Linked DNA regions of Homo sapiens: region 1 is linked to region 2. The links are contacts of gene promoters, found by promoter capture Hi-C in blood cells and fetal thymus (Javierre and others, 2016). All regions are on one chromosome and are shown on one strand. Each heading gives the region's core, a stretch centred on a gene start or on the middle of the fragment in contact. The rest is flanking DNA. Distances are from core to core; before and after follow the strand shown.

Region 1 (3,731 bases), core at 154-2,653, 1.5 Mb after region 2:
AGCATCCCCTCAGCAGGGTCAGACTCTCAGCTTCAGCTTGCTAGGAGGGAGCTTGGAGCCGGCATATCTTTCTGCTCCCATTCACTTGAGAGGTATATTTCCATTAATAGCTAAAGGTACCATTCTCAAATAATTTCTAAGAGCAGGGAAGGGAAACAACCACATTAGAACAAGTCCTGGCCCAGAAGAATTCTGATCACCGCCCATCCAAACCAAACCAAACCAAAAAACCACAGATCTAGTTCATTAACCCTCCTACCAACACCTCTCTGCTCTCCAATCGTGCCGGTGAAAAAAATGCAGAGAAATGTTCTCTCTAGAGAGATAGGCAACAGCTTAATAGCAGAAGTAAAACTTGGACCCAAATCCCTGTCTCGTCCTGGGCTGCCTTGATGTGTATGAATGTGTTGCATACTGCAAATAATGTGAACTTTGCAGACCTGGATTGAAATCTGGGCTTCTCATTTTACAAATTGTGTGATCTTGAACAAATTACATGCTTTCTCTTAGCCTGGTTTTCTATGTGTCAAATAGAGGTACCTGGCTTACTTTGCAAGGCTTTTCCAAGATAACCACTGTATATCCTTTGCCTCATAATAATTGCCAAGCAGTATTCACTCTCTTCCTCCCAACAAACGGTCCATGTTTTACATAATTGGATTTTAGTTTTTTGAGGGCAGGGACACAAAGATCTTTGTGTTTACTATATAATATAAATGGGCACATGGTGGATATTTTTGCATTTCCTCTCAGCTGACATTCATTGAGCATCAGTTACGTGCAAAGTACTGTTCTGGGTATAGGGAATTGCCCCTGGGGCCAGCTGGATTAGCACTCACATCTCCTGTGCCCCAATCCAGGGCCCTTTGGTGGCACACAGCCTCCGTCTTTGGTAGTTGCACGGTGAGACTGTGAGGCAGCAGTTGGCAGTGCCTTCAGATTTCAGTCTCTGTAGATTGAAAATGAAGTGTAATCCCCTGCTAATGCCCTTTTAAGTGTACAGGTTGAACATGGCTGAATGAACTATTGTATTGTGCATCAAGAGATTTTAAACTCCTTGCAGAACCCCTCTTTTAAGTTCTCTGTGCAATATAATCTAGCTGGATACTTAATGTGAATATAAAGAAAAAATATAATCCAACCCCGAGTGCCTAATTTGTGTTTGTCAAGTGCTGTTTTCAAGAATTGAGATTTGACATAGAGTGCTTTGCATCTGGACACTTTCACAGAAGTTCCTTGGTGAAATTTTATATTTACGTGAACTGTTGTTTCTTTGTGCCAAACCTGCTTTTTCCTCCCTCCACTCCCACCTCTGTACTTTTGAAAGCTTCATTCTTGTCATTATTTCCCTGTAAGCCAAATATGTTTACAGTTTTGTCTTTCAAACTAAAAGTAATTAATTTTGCAATTTTTAGTTGAAGACATGTATATATGCCAATCAGAACTTGATCAGTGCAAGCTACCCAGTGTGACTTCAAAGTAAGCTTGGCATTTTAGCCTGTGCAGCTTTGTCATGAGTAAGCAAACTCGGTTTTCATTACATATTTGGACCTTATTTCAGCCTTCAGTGAATCCAAGGAAAGTTGAGAATCATGGCTCTTGCCCACCTTTCTTATCTTCCTTGTGAAAAAAAGAGACCTGAAGTGACTTGTCACAGGTAATCAGTAGCGGAACTAGGATTAAGACACAAACTCCTTACTAAGCCACTTTATTATCTCAGGGTTTTTTCGTCTAGTATGTAGACTTATGGAAATCCCTTACTTACGTACATTCGTGGTATGCAGTTAAAATGCACGAATAATTTGGAACTTGAGATCACAAGAATAAAAAAGATAACTCCCTGAAAAAAACTCTTAAGGAAGTATACCATCATCTGAGGGTATTAATCATCTTTTTCCTTTAAAAACCGGTTGGTGAAGGAGTAATTGAAGTGGTAACAGACTATGATTAGAAAGAAAAGAGCATTTAAAAGTGTCGCAAGGTGAGAAATCATTTATTGGGTAAAGATCTTAGGAAAAAATTTTCCCTCTGAGGCTCAGTTTATTGATTTGTAAGATAAGGAGCTTGGGTTAGCCTAGACGATGCCTAAAATGTGTCAGCACAGACATTATGGGACTTTAAGTTCCCGCTGTTGCTAAAATAGTGTCTTCAAGGAGAAGGGCAGTTAGTTATTAGAAGTATATGCCCTAAAGAGATATCCAGATACTTCAAAATTGAACATCTAACTAAAAGAAGCTAAGAGAGATTACTTGGTGTTTTCAGTTTACCCTAATAATTCTTCTGATTTGTTTTAAGATTTAGTGCCACTCGACAACTTAAACTGATGACATGAAAAATGTAGTAAGGAAGATGAGCCAAATCATACAGTTGGAAATAGTTGAGCAAGAAGAAACTTAGAAAAGAGAAGGCATAGGATGGAAGCCAGACTAGCTCAGCTAAAGGCCTTTGACACCAGTAGTTAGAGGAAGCAGATAACATGCAAATGACTGAGCCAGGGAGGATCAATCAATGGTAGAAGGCGTTTATCTGGGATACACCAAAACCAGGTTCTTCAGAATAGGACTTCCTTGGGCCATTTTCAGGTATAGTAAAGAGAAAAGCTGTGAATTTACAAAATGCAGTTTTGAAGTAGAGTGAGAATTATTTTAGGCCACTTAAATTATTTAAATTTTGTTTCCCTAAAGATTGTCATCACTCCCCAACTCCCCACCCCACCTCATGTGCATTATTAGTGTCTTGGATAATTAAGATTAACTGGGTATAAGCGAAGAAAAAAAGGAAAGCACGAAAGCATAAAAAAGATAGTCTCAGCTACTCAGGAGGCTGAGGCGGGAGAATCACTTGAACCCGGCAGGCGGAGGTTGCAGTGAGCCAAGATTGCGCCACTGCACTCCAGTTGAAATTCCTATGATATACTTTCTTTTATGCTTCTAATGGATGATGTCTAAGATATTAAACTTTATTTTTATAGTTAGAACAAAGTATTCTTATATACCTTGAGAGTATAATTGCCATCTTCCGAAAGTTTCAAAAAAAAGTCATCATGAGCCACGTAACAAAACTCAGAGCATTTCCAAAGTGATATAGTTTAGAAAATAATGACGATTTTTTTTAAAGCTTACACTTTCTTTTTCGTTCACTGCCTGAAGTGATGTTGCTAATGTGGGAATTGAAATCAGACTGGCAAGTCGTGCATTTGAATACAATCACATTTAGCCTTCCAGGTTTTACTGCATTTAACTGCTTCTCACCAGCTTGGAGACCCACAGTCTTATACTCCAAGGGATTCCCCTTCCCTTCAAAAAGTTGTTTGCAAATAGAGAGTTATAGTCCTCCATGAAAGATAGCATACTTTAAAAAGGCAGGCAGGGGGAGGGAACTTAATTTACAGATTGCAACCATGTGGTCAAGCGTTGATTCTCAGTCTCCTCAAGTATGAGGCCATTTTTTGTAGCTTTAGAAAAATTTCGTGAAACCTCATACACTAGTAGTTGTGCTTGCAGTATCCATTGGTCAATTAAACATATAACTACCAAAAGCTGTTGTGAATTTAATATCAGTTTGTGTTTATGGATCCCAATAATATCTGCACACTCTGAAAAACAGGACTATAAGTACATGTGAGACATTTACTAATATTCAAGCCGTGCCTGCTGCTTGTCAGGATGTGTGGGCTCCTTGCAATCATGCTGCGGCCCTGACAGGGCCTAATCTGGCTCAGAGTGGACATG
Region 2 (3,686 bases), core at 646-3,145:
GACCTCCCGGGTTCAAGCGATTCTCCTGCCTCAGCCTCCTGAGTAGCTGGGACTACAGGCATGTGCCACTACGCCCAGCTAATTTTTGTATTTTTATTAGAGACGGGGTTTCACCATATTGGCCAGGATGGTCTTGATCTCTTGACCTCATGATCCGCTCACCTTGGCCTCCCAGAGTGCTGGGATTACAGGCATGAGCCAACCGCGCCCGGCCTATTAGCCAAAATATTAAACTGACATAATGGCTATGTAGAATGCAACTTTCAAGTGGATGCATTCCATTGATAATAATAGTAATAACAACACATATATTCCTTACTATGACCAGCTACTGTTTTAGGAGTTTTACTTAATTATCTAATTTTTTACAATTACCATTTTTAGGTAGTTTACTATTATTAGCTTCACTGTAATGGTGATAGGTGAGTACAATAAAACACGGAGAAGTGATCTGGCCAACAACTCACACATAGATGGCTGAGTTAGATGTTTCACTTAGGCTTAAAGTTATTGCCTGCTGGTAAGCAAACAAGTCATATTTTAAATGAAGCATTTTATGAACACATACTACTAGTTTTTAGTATCTGCCATAGAATTGAGATCTATTTGCAAACAGCCATATTGTTTTCTTAAGACACTACTGTAGGCAGAATAATGATCCCCCAAAGATGTTTATCTCCTAATTTCCGGAATTCGTGAATATATTAGCTTACATGGCAAAAGGATTCTGCTGATGTGATCAAGGGCAGAGACCTGGAAATGGGAAGATGATCCTGGATTACTCAGGTGAGCCCTCAGAATCTTTTCCAGCTGCAATCAGCGGTAGACTTGAGGATGGAAGGTTCAGAGAGATGGCATATCACTGGCTTTGAAGATGGAGGAAGGGACCAAAGCCAAGGAATGTGGACAGAAGCTGGCAAAGGCAAGCTAAGGATTGTCCTGTGGAGTCACCAGAAAGGAGTGCAGCCCGGGTGACACCCAGGTAGCACTTCTGATCTACAGAACCGTGAGATAATAAATGCATTGTCTGTCAGATGATAAATTTGTGCTGTTTCAAGCTACAAAGTTTGTGGTTTTTGGTTATTGTGGCAATAGGGAACGGATACAGGCCCTGTCAGGTATTTCACTCAATCCATGAAATACCTTACAGTATACAAATTTTAACATGCGCGGGAGCCACTTACGGATCCGTCTATCTGTGCTGCCTGGGAGTGTCAAGAGGCCGTGTCCTTCATTCACCTCGCGCGTGGGCGGCGCTGCCCTGAAGATGCTCCCGGGCTCAGTGCAGACGGCTCAGCGTTCTCTCGCGTTCAACGAACCGCCAGAAACGTCAGATGGTACGGAGGAAAACACTTTACACTTTAACAGTATTTTTACGTTTATTTGCAGCAAATGTTGTTGGCTTTGTATTTAAAGTATTTATGACTCACTATAAAGTGTAGGATCCAAGAAAACGCGCTAGTTTCACTTGGCCCCCGTGGCTGTCCCGGGGAGCTCTCCAAGGAAGGACTGGTTCCTGAAGTTCCTGGGGTGCTGCACCACCACGGAAGAACCAAGCTCCACAGAGAAGCCAGAAGCCGCGACCGCGGGGACGCTCTCTGCCAGGCCTCCACCGCCTCAGCGGCCCTTTACAGCCACCGCATTCTCCATGCCCCCAGTTATTTCTAGCTTCGCACAGCGCCCGGCCCACCGAGCGACCTCAAACCTCGCGACACTCGCAACTCCCGAGGCCCTTCCTGCTACTGGCCTCAGAGGGAAGAGACATCGGGAAGATTGCTCCGCCCACAGAAAGGAAGATTTCGTTCTCGCGAGATCCCAATGACAATTCGGGAGCCCGTTCTCGCGGGATTTTCCAAGACCGGGTTGGAATTTGCGGGGGTTAGGAGACGGAAGTCAGAGCCTAGGAAGATTTGGGGGTCGCCTTGCCGGCCTCCTGTCCTCCTCCGGCGGCGGCGGAGCCCGAGAGAACTAGGTGAACACCGCTTTGCCAGCCTCACACAGCGTCCCCTGGCTCTGCCGCCGCTCCGGACGTCGCCCTCCCGTTCTGCTTGGGTCCCCTTAGTCGCTACCTTTGCTGGGATCCCCCTCCTCCATCCTGTGGCTTCGGGTTGCCGAAGAGCGATGCTCGGAGGGCGGCCGGAAGTGGCGTTGGCCGCCATTGGCCTGCCGGCCAGCCACCTTGCTGTCCTCCGCCGCCTTCCGGGTGTTACATGCAGCCGGGCTCGGCCCCTCCCCCTGGCCGGATGGATCCGTCGGCGCCACAGCCCCGCGCGGAAACCTCAGGCAAAGGTACCAGCTCCGCGCTCGCCCCTTACGCAGAGGCCTGTGTACTGCGTCGCGTTGGACCAGTTCTTGCCGGTGCCCTTCGGGTTGGGGTTTTGCCCTGTAGATCCTCTTCAGTGACAGCTGCAGATTGTGAACCCCTCCAGGCCTGGAACCAAATCTCCGATTCAGTGTTGAGAACCTGGACTCGGGAGTCAGCCCCTGGGATCTAGTGCTGCCTCTGACAGTTACTTGCTGAGCAACTTTGGGCAGGCTCCTCATCTGTAAAACTGGGTTCATTACTAGGTTCTTGCGATTATTAAATGACGTGGGGAATACGCAAAGTATTTATGTGACCCCGCGTGTGGCCCATATTAAGCACTCAGTAAATGTTATTTTCATTCTTTATTCTTGTATGCCCCAGTTGTTAGTGAATGGCAGAAGTTTGTTGTAAGTAGATAAATGAAGGTTGAGATATTTAGTTCAGTTGAGTTTTATTGCCTATTGAGTCAGGGCATTATATTCTGCCTTAAATAGGAGGTTTAAAGAAGGTGTGATTATCTACCACAAGTCACCTGGGATGCCTTCTGGCACCCAAATGAGTAGTTTTCATTAATAATTGTGCTGTATAACAAAAGCTACCAGGTATTGAGTGATTTTCCTGAGCCCAGCAATATGCTGATTGTTTACTTGCTTTCCTTTGAGGAAGATATCGATCTCATTAAATAGATGAATTCAGAGCTAAAGTTCAGAGAGGGCAAGTTACAAGCCTGAATTCTGAGGTCTAGGAATTGATGACGCTGTAATTCAGGGACCAAACATATAAATACCTATAGGAGACTGGCAGCTAAAAATAGATGAAGCTGCCGAGTGGATATTGTGACTGGGAGGCTCATTCCTTTTGATAAATCTAGTCACTCTTGGTATTTAGGGAAATTGGTGGAAGGAGCAGAAAGCTCCAGGGCCCCGAGGTGGGAACACCCTTGAGGAATGCTTGAGGAGGCCTTTGGAGTGAAAGAGGGAGAGAGAGACCCTATCACCAGAATGAGTTGAGTTGGTAATTAGTTTAAACCAAAACAAATGATTTCGACTCATTAAATTTTAGGACACTTAACCCATTTCCCTGTTAAATCCAACAGGAAATCTTAACAATTTAAGCAGTTGTTCTGTAGTTTGGATACTGAGAGATTCCATTTCTAACTCAACTGAATTTATTTCGTCCTAGAAATTATCCGAACTCAAACCCAAAATACTCCAATAAGTTGTGTGATTCCCTTAAGGCTTTTTTTTTTTTGCACATGCTGTACACTTATCTGAGATACAGTTCTTAGACCCCTTTCCCTTTTAAATTACATTTCTCAATACTCCCTTCTCATAGCACTCTTCTTCCAATGCAGTTTTTACAGTTATGTATATGTTGGTGT

Evidence for each region. The method cuts DNA at HindIII sites, captures the fragments that hold promoters and counts their contacts. A CHiCAGO score of 5 or more calls a contact.
Region 1: a fragment that was not itself captured here is called in contact with the fragment with the promoter of ERCC6L2 in region 2 in 1 of 17 cell types (total B cells); the score reaches 7.7 in total B cells.

The regions. Positions count from the first base shown.
Region 1 is chr9:97,412,869-97,416,599 of GRCh38, forward strand. The region is part of intron 1 of TDRD7 (tudor domain containing 7); the gene reads left to right. Among named protein-coding and RNA genes, the nearest start is that of TDRD7, 2.6 kb to the left of the region's middle. RefSeq lists enhancers at 1-210, 1-74. The HindIII fragment of the contact is 157 bases long and covers 1,326-1,482 here.
Region 2 is chr9:95,873,796-95,877,481 of GRCh38, forward strand. ERCC6L2 (ERCC excision repair 6 like 2) reads left to right here and starts at 1,896. Exons shown (of 19, transcript NM_020207.7): 1 at 1,896-2,289. The coding sequence starts at 2,244. ERCC6L2-AS1 (ERCC6L2 antisense RNA 1) reads right to left here and starts at 2,182. Exons shown (of 3, transcript NR_023390.1): 1 at 2,070-2,182. RefSeq lists enhancers at 1,067-1,196, 1,427-1,476, 1,517-1,616, 1,751-2,625, 1,757-1,986 and 1 more. The HindIII fragment of the contact is 4,005 bases long and covers 1-3,686 here.